2 separate regions of the Homo sapiens genome follow, and region 1 is linked to region 2. Evidence: promoter capture Hi-C in 16 types of primary human blood cells and fetal thymus (Javierre and others, 2016). All regions are on one chromosome and are shown on one strand. Each heading gives the region's core, a stretch centred on a gene start or on the middle of the fragment in contact. The rest is flanking DNA. Distances are from core to core; before and after follow the strand shown.

What was found. Contacts are between HindIII fragments. The CHiCAGO score rates a contact against its expected background, and 5 or more counts as called.
Region 1: a contact is called between a fragment that was not itself captured here and the fragment with the promoter of CDKL2 in region 2, in 1 of 17 cell types (activated CD4 T cells). The highest score is 5.6, in activated CD4 T cells.

What each region holds. Positions count from the first base shown.
Region 1 is chr4:76,215,902-76,220,529 of GRCh38, reverse strand. It overlaps a transcript of SCARB2 not described here and a transcript of FAM47E not described here. Among named protein-coding and RNA genes, the nearest start is that of SCARB2, 4.4 kb to the right of the region's middle. The HindIII fragment of the contact is 2,409 bases long and covers 1,111-3,519 here.
Region 2 is chr4:75,629,211-75,633,987 of GRCh38, reverse strand. It overlaps CDKL2 (cyclin dependent kinase like 2), which reads left to right and starts at 3,460. Exons shown (of 14, transcript NM_001330724.2): 1 at 3,460-3,946. The HindIII fragment of the contact is 1,829 bases long and covers 2,142-3,970 here.

The DNA of each region.
Region 1 (4,628 bases), core at 1,066-3,565, 590 kb before region 2:
TCACCTCATAAGTAAGCTGGGACTATAGGTGCATGCCACCGTGCCCATCTAATTTTTAATTTTTCTATAGAGATAGGGTCTTGCTATGATGCCCAGGCTAGTCTTGAACTCCTGGTCCCAAGCAATCCTCCTGCCTCAGTCTCCCAAAATACTGGTATTACAGGTATGAGCCACCACACCCAGCCTATTTCTTTCCTTTTTATAGCTGAATAGTATTTTCCACTGTATGTCTATAACATATTTTGTGTATCTATTATTGTCTGATGACATTTGGGTCGGTTCCACCTTTTGACTATTGTGAACAATGCTGCTATGAACACTGGTTTACAAGTATTTGTTTGAGTACCTGTCTTCAATTTTGGGGGTTATATACCTAGGAAGAGAGTTGCTAGGTCATATGATAATTCTGTTTAACTTTTTAAAGAACTGTGATTTGCATCTCTATCTCCTCTGGTTTGATTCAAAATGGAGGAAACAGTTCTGCTTAAGATAGCTTGCAGTGCAATTGAAGCAAACACTACTCATTAATATTCTGAAACGTTTTTCATTGACACTAAAAAGAAACAGTATTTATTTATGAAAGAACTGGAAATGCTTACAACTGTTGTAAAGTTAACTGAATAGCAGTCTTCTCTGAGGTTTGATGAGTATAGGAGGCTTCTAGGTAATCATTTCAGACTCTCAGGATATGTGGTGAGTGCAGTGGTTAGAAGTCATGCGGGGACCAGGTTAGTGGTGAGGGGCGGGGCTTATTTTTACCCTTTCCATAGTCTAATATCTAAGCCCCCCATTCCCCATTCCACTACTGCACCCCTATCTCTGGCCAAATATCTTCTCCCCACCACTCCAGGCTGACAAAGTCTGCCTCTACCCTCAGACAGTCCCCTCTTCACTCTCCATCCCCCCTTTCTCCCCTCAGAAAGAGATGCTGAGTAAACCTGGCTTTCTCGTTTATACAGCTTCTCCCCATGGAACACATCATTAAAGAATAACTGTGACCTCTCGTGTTGTTTATTTAGCCCTGATTTCACAACATGCAGGAAATCAGACAGCCTTGATATTTCACAATATGCTGGCTTTGCCACAGTGAGTTTAAACCCAACCCAAGCTTCATTTGCTTCTAGAAAGTACCATCAAAGTACCTCAAGTGAGAACAGACTAGAATACATTTCACGTCAGAATATACATTAGATATATTGCAAAGTATATTTTTGGCCACCGGACTGGCAACTCCTTCCTGGCTCTCCATTCTAGTTCAACATCAGGTTCAGGCAGAGGCATTGTCTCCCACACACACTAATTCCAACCTGTGCCCCTCCTGGATGCCCAGGTCACCATGAGTATTCCAGTGCCATTGCTTATTTTTATTTTTATTTTTTGCAATTTTCACTGCTTTCCTTTTACTCTTAATAAGCATGAGGCCAGAAGTCCCAAGCAGTGGCTAAGGGGTTAAGAGCCTGGCTAAAGCATCTGACTGACTTGGATTTAGTAATACCTTTGCTTCCTACTGGCCAGTAACATTGGACTACTTAGTCAATCTCTGTGTGCCTCAGTTTCCTTATCCTTAAAATAGAATGTCTACATCATAGGGCATTGTAAGGAGTAAATGAAGTAATGCAAGCCCACTGTCTAGCATAGTGCTTGTACAAGTACTATGTACAAGTAGCAGATAATATTGCTGACATATTCACCCTTTTTGCCCACTATATTTTTCTCCTCTTTGATCTCCTGACTCCTCGCCCTCCAACCACACATTCTATTAGTTAGACAACACTACGCTTGTGTTTTCAGGAAAGGGAAGAGAAAAAGGTGAATAGGATATCTCCTCCTAGTTCCGTGTTTCAATAAGTCTGCATTATTAGGGGAACAAAAAGGAAAATAAGAATTTGAAGAGGGGAATTCTCATTTTCCCATAACCCCAAACAAAATAAAAACCAAACCAAACCAAAACAAACTGGAAAAGATTCCCCTAGTTGGGGGTGCAAAGATGATAATGAGGAAGCCATGAGGTCTTCTTGATCGGAGGAGGCGGTAGACAGGGACATGGGTAACTTCACAGAGAGTCCCTGTGGCCTGGCACAGGTGCATGTGATATAATATAAATGGTATATGAGCTCTCCTCTGGGATATGTAAGCCTATCTGCATAAAGCAGTTCTGTAATGTAAGAACTTTGGAATGATGGGTAGGGGAGGAGGGAGGAGAGAGTAATTTTTTCTTATGGAGGCTGTATTGCTCAGGATTTAGGATGCCCCACAAACATTTAGGAATAACATATGTCAAATCACTAGGGTGTGATGGTACATTTTATAGATCACCTTCAATAAGAAGAAAGCCAAGACTTTTAGAAGTATCTTGGAGCCTGACCTGTCCCAAAGTAGGCAAGGCCTAGGGCCATTTCCATTCAAACTCCTGGGATCAAGTGATTCTCCTGCCTTGGCTTCCCAAAATGCTGGGATTACAGGCATGAGCCACCTGGCCCGGCCTGTGGTGTATTTTAAATGTTTATATTTAACACATTAACACTTTGAACATAAAAGTATACAATGACTACATCATTAAACTCATTTGAGTATAGTATCAACATTCTAAATTTAAGGTAGAGCCCAAAGAGCCCTCTTGCTTCCCCTCGATAGCCCTTAGAGTCTGTGAAGAAAGCTCTTTTTCTAAGTCCCGAATGATTGCATAATTTCAACAGGCACCAGCAATCATTCATTAAGTGTACTTGTTCTTCTCAGATAAAGTCTTCTGATTTTAGGTATAGAGAGATCACCGTATCTCCTTGCCACAGCATCAGTCTCCTCATTTTCCGCCCTTGTCTGTTTGTGTTGCTATAACAATACCTGAGATTGGGTAGTGAAAAGAGGTTTATTTGGCTCATGGTTCTGCAGGCTGGACAAGACGCACGGCACAGACATCTGCATTGGATGAGGGCCTCAGGCTGCTTCCACTCCTGGGAAGGCAGAAAGGGAGCACACCTGTGTGAGGCACATGGGCAGAGAGGAAGCTAGAGAGAGAAGGAGGAGGTGCCAGCTCTTTTCAACAACCCGCTCTCTGACAACTCACTCATGCCTGAGGGAGGCATTAATCTATTCATGAACAATCTCTCCTCAGGACCCAAACACCTCCCATTAGGCCCCACCTCCAACACTGGGGATCAAATTTCAACATGAGATTTGGAGGGAACACAAATCCAAACCATAGCAGAGAAGTCACCAGGAAGAGTCCTGATTGTCTCCCTGCCCTGGCATCAGCCTCCTCATCTAAACTCTGGGAGCAGTAACCCCTTCCCAAGCTGTCTGCCCCTCCAGAGTGTGTTCAGGGTTATTAGTGGCTGGCAAGCAGGGGCTACTCCCTGGATGAGAGGGCAAAGTCTCTCATAGGGTGAGATGATCCTGTGGCAATAAACTAACAATGCCAATTAGCGGTGCAGACATGTCCTATAGATCAGAAATGAGGAGGAAGTCCCAAAGGGCATTGAGAAACTTAAATCTGGATTTTGGGGCTTTGTGTCAAAAGCTTCTGAACATAGCTGTGGGTAGAGAAGATGGAACTGAACAGAAAGACAGCCAGGCCAGCTGCTAAAAAGTTATGCCAGCCTCGGTGATAAGACAGAGATTACTGTGGGATCACAGACTGCTATTTTGGGAACATACATTATTTTCTTAAAAGCTGTTTATATTTTCTGTAATTAGGTCCTTTTTGTTCTGTCTTATGTTAACACATTTAAAAATGCTAGCCTGGTCAGCTGTGTTAAGAAGAACCAAGAAAGAGATTTTCATTCGGCTTGTCCAGAGTTTTAAAGGGGAAGTGGCTTACTAACCGCCTGACATAGTGGAAACAGAGTGAGATCCTCAGAGAGCAGGTAAACTGAGGGCAACTTGAGCTGTAAACCCTTGTTTAGAAACTCTCCCACACTAAGATACATTTATCAAATTTGTCTCCATCTCTCCATCCCCACAGTCTGTTACTGTCCTGGTGGCCCAGACAAGAGAGAAGAAGGGACCTCAATGAACAATGAAAAGGAAGAGTACCCTGGGATTGGTGGTCCAGGGATGGGAGGAGTGGGTACCTATGGAGTTTGCCCTCCAGAATGGAGCCCGCAAACAGAAAATCTGATTGTAGCAGTCAGAGAGTAGGGGGTGGAAGTTCAGTGTGAGCATGAACTTCTGAGTGCCAAAGTACCTAGGCAGGCAAGTTACCAAATTTTTTTTTCTAGTTAGGGAAGGAGAGGACATATAGATGACAGGAGGACTTCAACCAATGCCTAGGTAGGGGACATGTGAGGGTTAGTGGGCTAGCATTGCTCCTTAAGCAAACTGGGGCACAGAGCAGAGTTAATGTAGCTAACTGAAACTTAACAGCAGAGAAGAGGCAGGATTAGGGGAAGAGAAAGGCTGCCGATTGTGGACACCTGAGGACTGGAGACCACCCACCCATCAGGCTGGGGACAGTTGAATCATTCAGGACCCCACCAGGTTCTATTTGAACACAGGACTGGTCCTCTGGGGCTGCTGCTTGAAGAGCTTTGGTAGCTACAAAATGTCCCAGCCTCAGTTCTGCCCTTACCATCTGCTCCAGTTATCTACTGAGTAACCTACCACACCAACACTCAGTGGCTTAAACAACA
Region 2 (4,777 bases), core at 2,211-4,710:
CTTTCCCTTGGCATAGTGTTTTCAAGATTCATCCATCATGTATCAGCACTTCCTTTTATGGTTGAGTAATATTCCATTAAATTGAATACACCAAATTTTATTCCTCCGCTGATGGACATTTGGGTTTTTTCTGTTTTTTTGGTTATTAATAATGCTGTTGTGAGCATTTGTGTGTAAGTTTTTATGTGAACATGTTTTTATTTCTCTTATAATACCTGGAAGTGGAATTGCTGGGTCATATGGTCCTTAATCTATTTCACATTTATTTCATTGCCATTGCCATCTCTCAAGCTGTCCTCTCTTGACATCTACCTCATGCACTCCCATACTGTTTTCTTTAGATTTTTAGAACATTTTCACTTTCTTCACTGATTAATGTCTTTCTCAGCCTCTTCCACTATAGTCCTACTTGGTAGTTCATGTTAATGAATTTTTCATACTGTGACCTCAAGTTTCTTTGAACTCAATGACATTTTCCACTCAACTTCAGCTACCCAAGGAACAGCCAAATACTCCACCCTTTAGAACTGATCATCCTGTGCCATTTCCAACATCTGGAATACACAAACTGCTTTCTCTGATAACTTTTTCCTCCTATATTGCTCCTTTAAACTTATTATTCATGCCTATGATGACTTCCAGACCCTCAGTGCCTCCGTTTTCAGTTTATTAGCTAACTGCTGTCAAAATTTATCTTCCTATTTAGCAGGAGCCCATGGCAAGCAATTTTAATGGTATTTTCTTCAGCATCTTTGATTCCTTTTTTTTTTCTCAGTGATCCTTGTTCTGAAATTCCTTAACTCCTTTGTTTAATCTTTTTGCATTACCAGTTCTCTAAAAGAGGCAGCTTATATATCATCTATTTTCTCCATTCTTTCCTTTGGGGTTGCCCAATTCTGGGCAACAGTGTCAGTTGGTTCACTGTAAATTCATGGTACCCAGGCTCAAGTGAGCACATTTTTACTATTTTGTGTTCCTTTTATATCAAAATGACTTCTTAACTATTCTAACGTATTTCTGCTCTCAAATCCTTAAGCCTCTATCTCACCATTACCTTTTTATGCAAAAATAAAGTTCTTTTACTGAGATGGCCTGGGCCCACAGTGTATGCCCTACACTTTTCTCAGTTTTTTCCATTTTCTCTAAACCTCTTCAAGCCTAACCCCTTCTCATATATTATTACCTACTCTTCAGTACCTCTCCTTGGTTTTTCATTAATTATTCATTTTCTTGCCCCTTTAAGGTCTCTCCCCACTCTTTTTCCCTATAAATATTTCCCTCTTTAAAAAGAAAAAATAGGCCGGGTGCGGTGGGTCACGCCTGTAATCCCAGCACTTTGGGAGGCTGAGGCGGGCGGATCAACTGAGGTCAGGAGTTCGAGACCAGTCTGACCAACATGGCGAAAACCTGCCTCTACTAAAAAAAGAAAAAAATTAGCCAGGCGTGGTGGTGGGGTCCTGTAATCCCAGCTACCTGGGAGGCTGAGACAGGAGAATCGCTTGAACCCAGGAAGCAGAGGTTGCAGTGAGCCAAGATCGTGCTGCTGCACTCCAGCCTGGGCAACAGAGTGAGACTCCGCCTCAGAAGAAAAGAAAGAAAAAATAGTAACACAATCCTGTTTCTACATAATACCTTCTCTATTAACAATCCTGTAGATGGCCAGAATGTGTAAGTCTTTAATAACCTCTGTCCTCTACAACTGGCTTTCAAACTCAGTTCTTACTGAAATTGTTTTTTTTTGGTTTGTTTGTTTTCTTTTTTTCAGTCTCCCAAGTAGCTGGGAGTACAGGCGTTCACAACCATGCCCAGCTAATTTTTGTATTGTTAGTAGAGACAGGGTTTCACCATGTTGGCCTGGCTGGTATCAAACTCCTGACCTCAGGTGATCTGCCCGCCTTGGCCTCCCAAAGTGCTAGGATTACAGGCATGAGCCACCGCATCTGGCTGAAATTGTTTCCTAAAGCATCACTTGTTCGCCAAATCCAGTATTTTCAGTCTTTATCCTTTGGTTCCCTGTGAGATATAAATAGATTATTGAAGCTTCTAGGCCTCTTGCATGAAGGGGCCTTAAAATGTTATACGGTTGAATATGATTATAAAGTTGCAAAAGTAAAATAGTTTTGCGCTCTTGTTCTTAAGCTTCAGGCCCAACAAAACTGAATCTACCCCCATATAAAAGAAGTTCATCAGATTCTCTTATAGCCTATAGAGGTACCAAATGGGACAGGGCTTCTCGCAACTTGGACACAGCTAAGGACAGAGCTAATTGCTACACTAAGAGTCACATCTTGAATTGACCAAATAATTCTATTCTTTCCATAACTAGGCCTCAGGTCTGGTTCTCAATATTACAGGTTCAGGAACTAGATTTTAAGCAGTCTGACCAAGGTAATTAACCACTGGGAGATTAATGCAAACTAACCAAACTCACAAAAGACTATAAAAAGAATGTCTATTTCTTAATGTACAAGAAGGAATCAATACCTTAACATTAATGATTAATACCTTAATATTGACTAGGGTATATGGTAGACATTTGTCTATCCAGGACACTCTATTCCCTAAATCAAAGTAGTTTCGAGACCAAAATGATCATGAACATTTAGTTATCATGATTGAAAGTGTTATTTTACTGGCCTTATGGCCTCCTCGCTGCCTCAGATTCTTTGAAAATGGGGTAAGCTCTGTTCCTGTGTGATTTAAGCCTGTGCATGATTCTGACCTACCAGTCTTGCTCAGTCGTGGATTGAGCTGCATTTTTGCATTTAAGGCAAGTTTTATCGCAAGCCCTAACTCCACCCCATTTGGCTGCCATACGCGGGTGTTGTGCGTGTCCTCCAGATCCCCAGCCATCCCAGCGCTTTCCCATTCCACTCATGCCCTCTCTTCCCCTTCCTCCATCTCAGTGTTTTCCCTCACTTTCAATGGCCAGACTGGCCTTCCCAAGGTCCCTCCTAACGTCAGGTCTGTCATCACCTACCTTCTTCCACCTTGCCTCGCCTACTAATCATCACCTCCTAAACTGTCACCGTTATCTCCTACCTGGCTCACACTGGCCCCACCGCCCAGAACAGAAAGGAAGCATGGAATCCCGGTCAGGCCGCGCCTACGCGACTCAGGGCGCCCGGCGCCCGCCCCTGCCCCAGCGGCGATGCTATGAGGGAAACCGTATCGCATTTTGCATAGTCTTCGCAGTCCTACATAACCGCCACCTTTACCCTTCGCGTGGGCATCACAATCGCCTCCTCCCGCTGGGGAAGGCAGAAAGGCGCCTCCTGACGAGAACCAAGGCGTGTGGGGACGCAGGGCCTCTGCGTGTCAGGGAGCAGAACCTGGGCCGAGCCCTAGGTGAAGGGGCGGGGTGGTTGGCCCTGAGCCAATCATGGCTCGTGACGACTCGGCTCGGCCAATCAGAAGAAGGGAGGCCTGGCGCTCTCGGGGCGGGTGAGAAACCGCCCCCCCTTGCAGCTCCGCGGCCAACGCCTTCGCCCAGGGGTAGTTGGAGCGGTGCAGGTTCCCAGGCTCCAGGTACTGGGCGCCTTACGAGCTGGGAGGTGGTGCCTCTCACCCAGCTAATTGCTCTCTAGCCCTTGGCCTTCACAGGTGTTGGTGCCTGCCGTGAACGCATTCTGACCTGGGCCGTATCTGTCTCCCAAGACTTTGTGCCTATGGTTGGGGACAGAGTGAGGTCGTTGCCTTGACGACGACAGCATGCGGCCCGTGGTCCTCCTAAGTGTGAGCTTGCGGCGGACCGAGGCCCACCTGCCTCCCTGCCTGCTTCGCCCTGGACTCGTGACTGCGTCCGCAGAAGAAATCACAACAGCGCTGGAATTGCTAGTTTGCTAGGCAGCATCTTTTGGACCTGCGAACCATATGCATTTCACCTCAAATTTGTTTCCAAGTTGAAAACCTTTGGGTCTTTCTATGCGAACGGATTGAAGAAACGGTAAGTATAGTACGTTTTAAAGCTTCTATTATCTCGTTCTTTGATCTATAAAAGATTTCAATCTTTTTTTTTTTTTTTTTTTTTTTTTTTTTTTTTTTTTTTTGAGACGGAGTTTCACTCTTGTTGCCCAGGCTGGAGTGCAATGGCATGGTCTCGGCTCACCGCAACCTCTGCCTCCTGGGTTCAAGCGATTATCCTGCCTCAGCCTCCCAAGTAGCTGGGATTACAGGCATCACCACCACGCCCGGCTAAGTTTGTATTTTTAGTAGAGACAGGGTTTCTCCATGTTGGTTAGGCTGGTCTCGAACTCGCAACCTCAGGTGATCCGCCCGCCTCGGCCTCCCAAAGTGTTGGGATTACAGGCGTGAGCCACCGCTCCCGGCCCTTTAATCTGTCTTAAACAAAATAAAAAATTAGCATTCTCCAAATATTTTTATCAAAATTGTTGCTTTTAGAACCATCCAGAAATAACACCTTGCCCATTGGCCAGGTTTCTTTTTCGTTTGTATTACCTTTCCGTTCAAGAGTAGAAGGCATGAGAAGTTATAGTTTATGAGTAACTGTTTCAGGAAACAGGAGGCTTTGTAGGCTGTGATACTTTTAAAGTATTTGTGGACAGTGTCACTTGAAAAAGCAGGTGTGTTCAATGTGGTGTGTCCAGATATGCAATTGGTTGGGAGAATAAACTTGAAGCAGTCAACTTGCATTAATGTTAGCTTGGGATATGCTTCAGAACACCTCAGACATGCTTAAAGTCATTTTTTTTGGTTCACTTTGTGCTTTCAAATATTGAGGACATCAATTACAAAATGTTTTAAAATAATCCAGGTT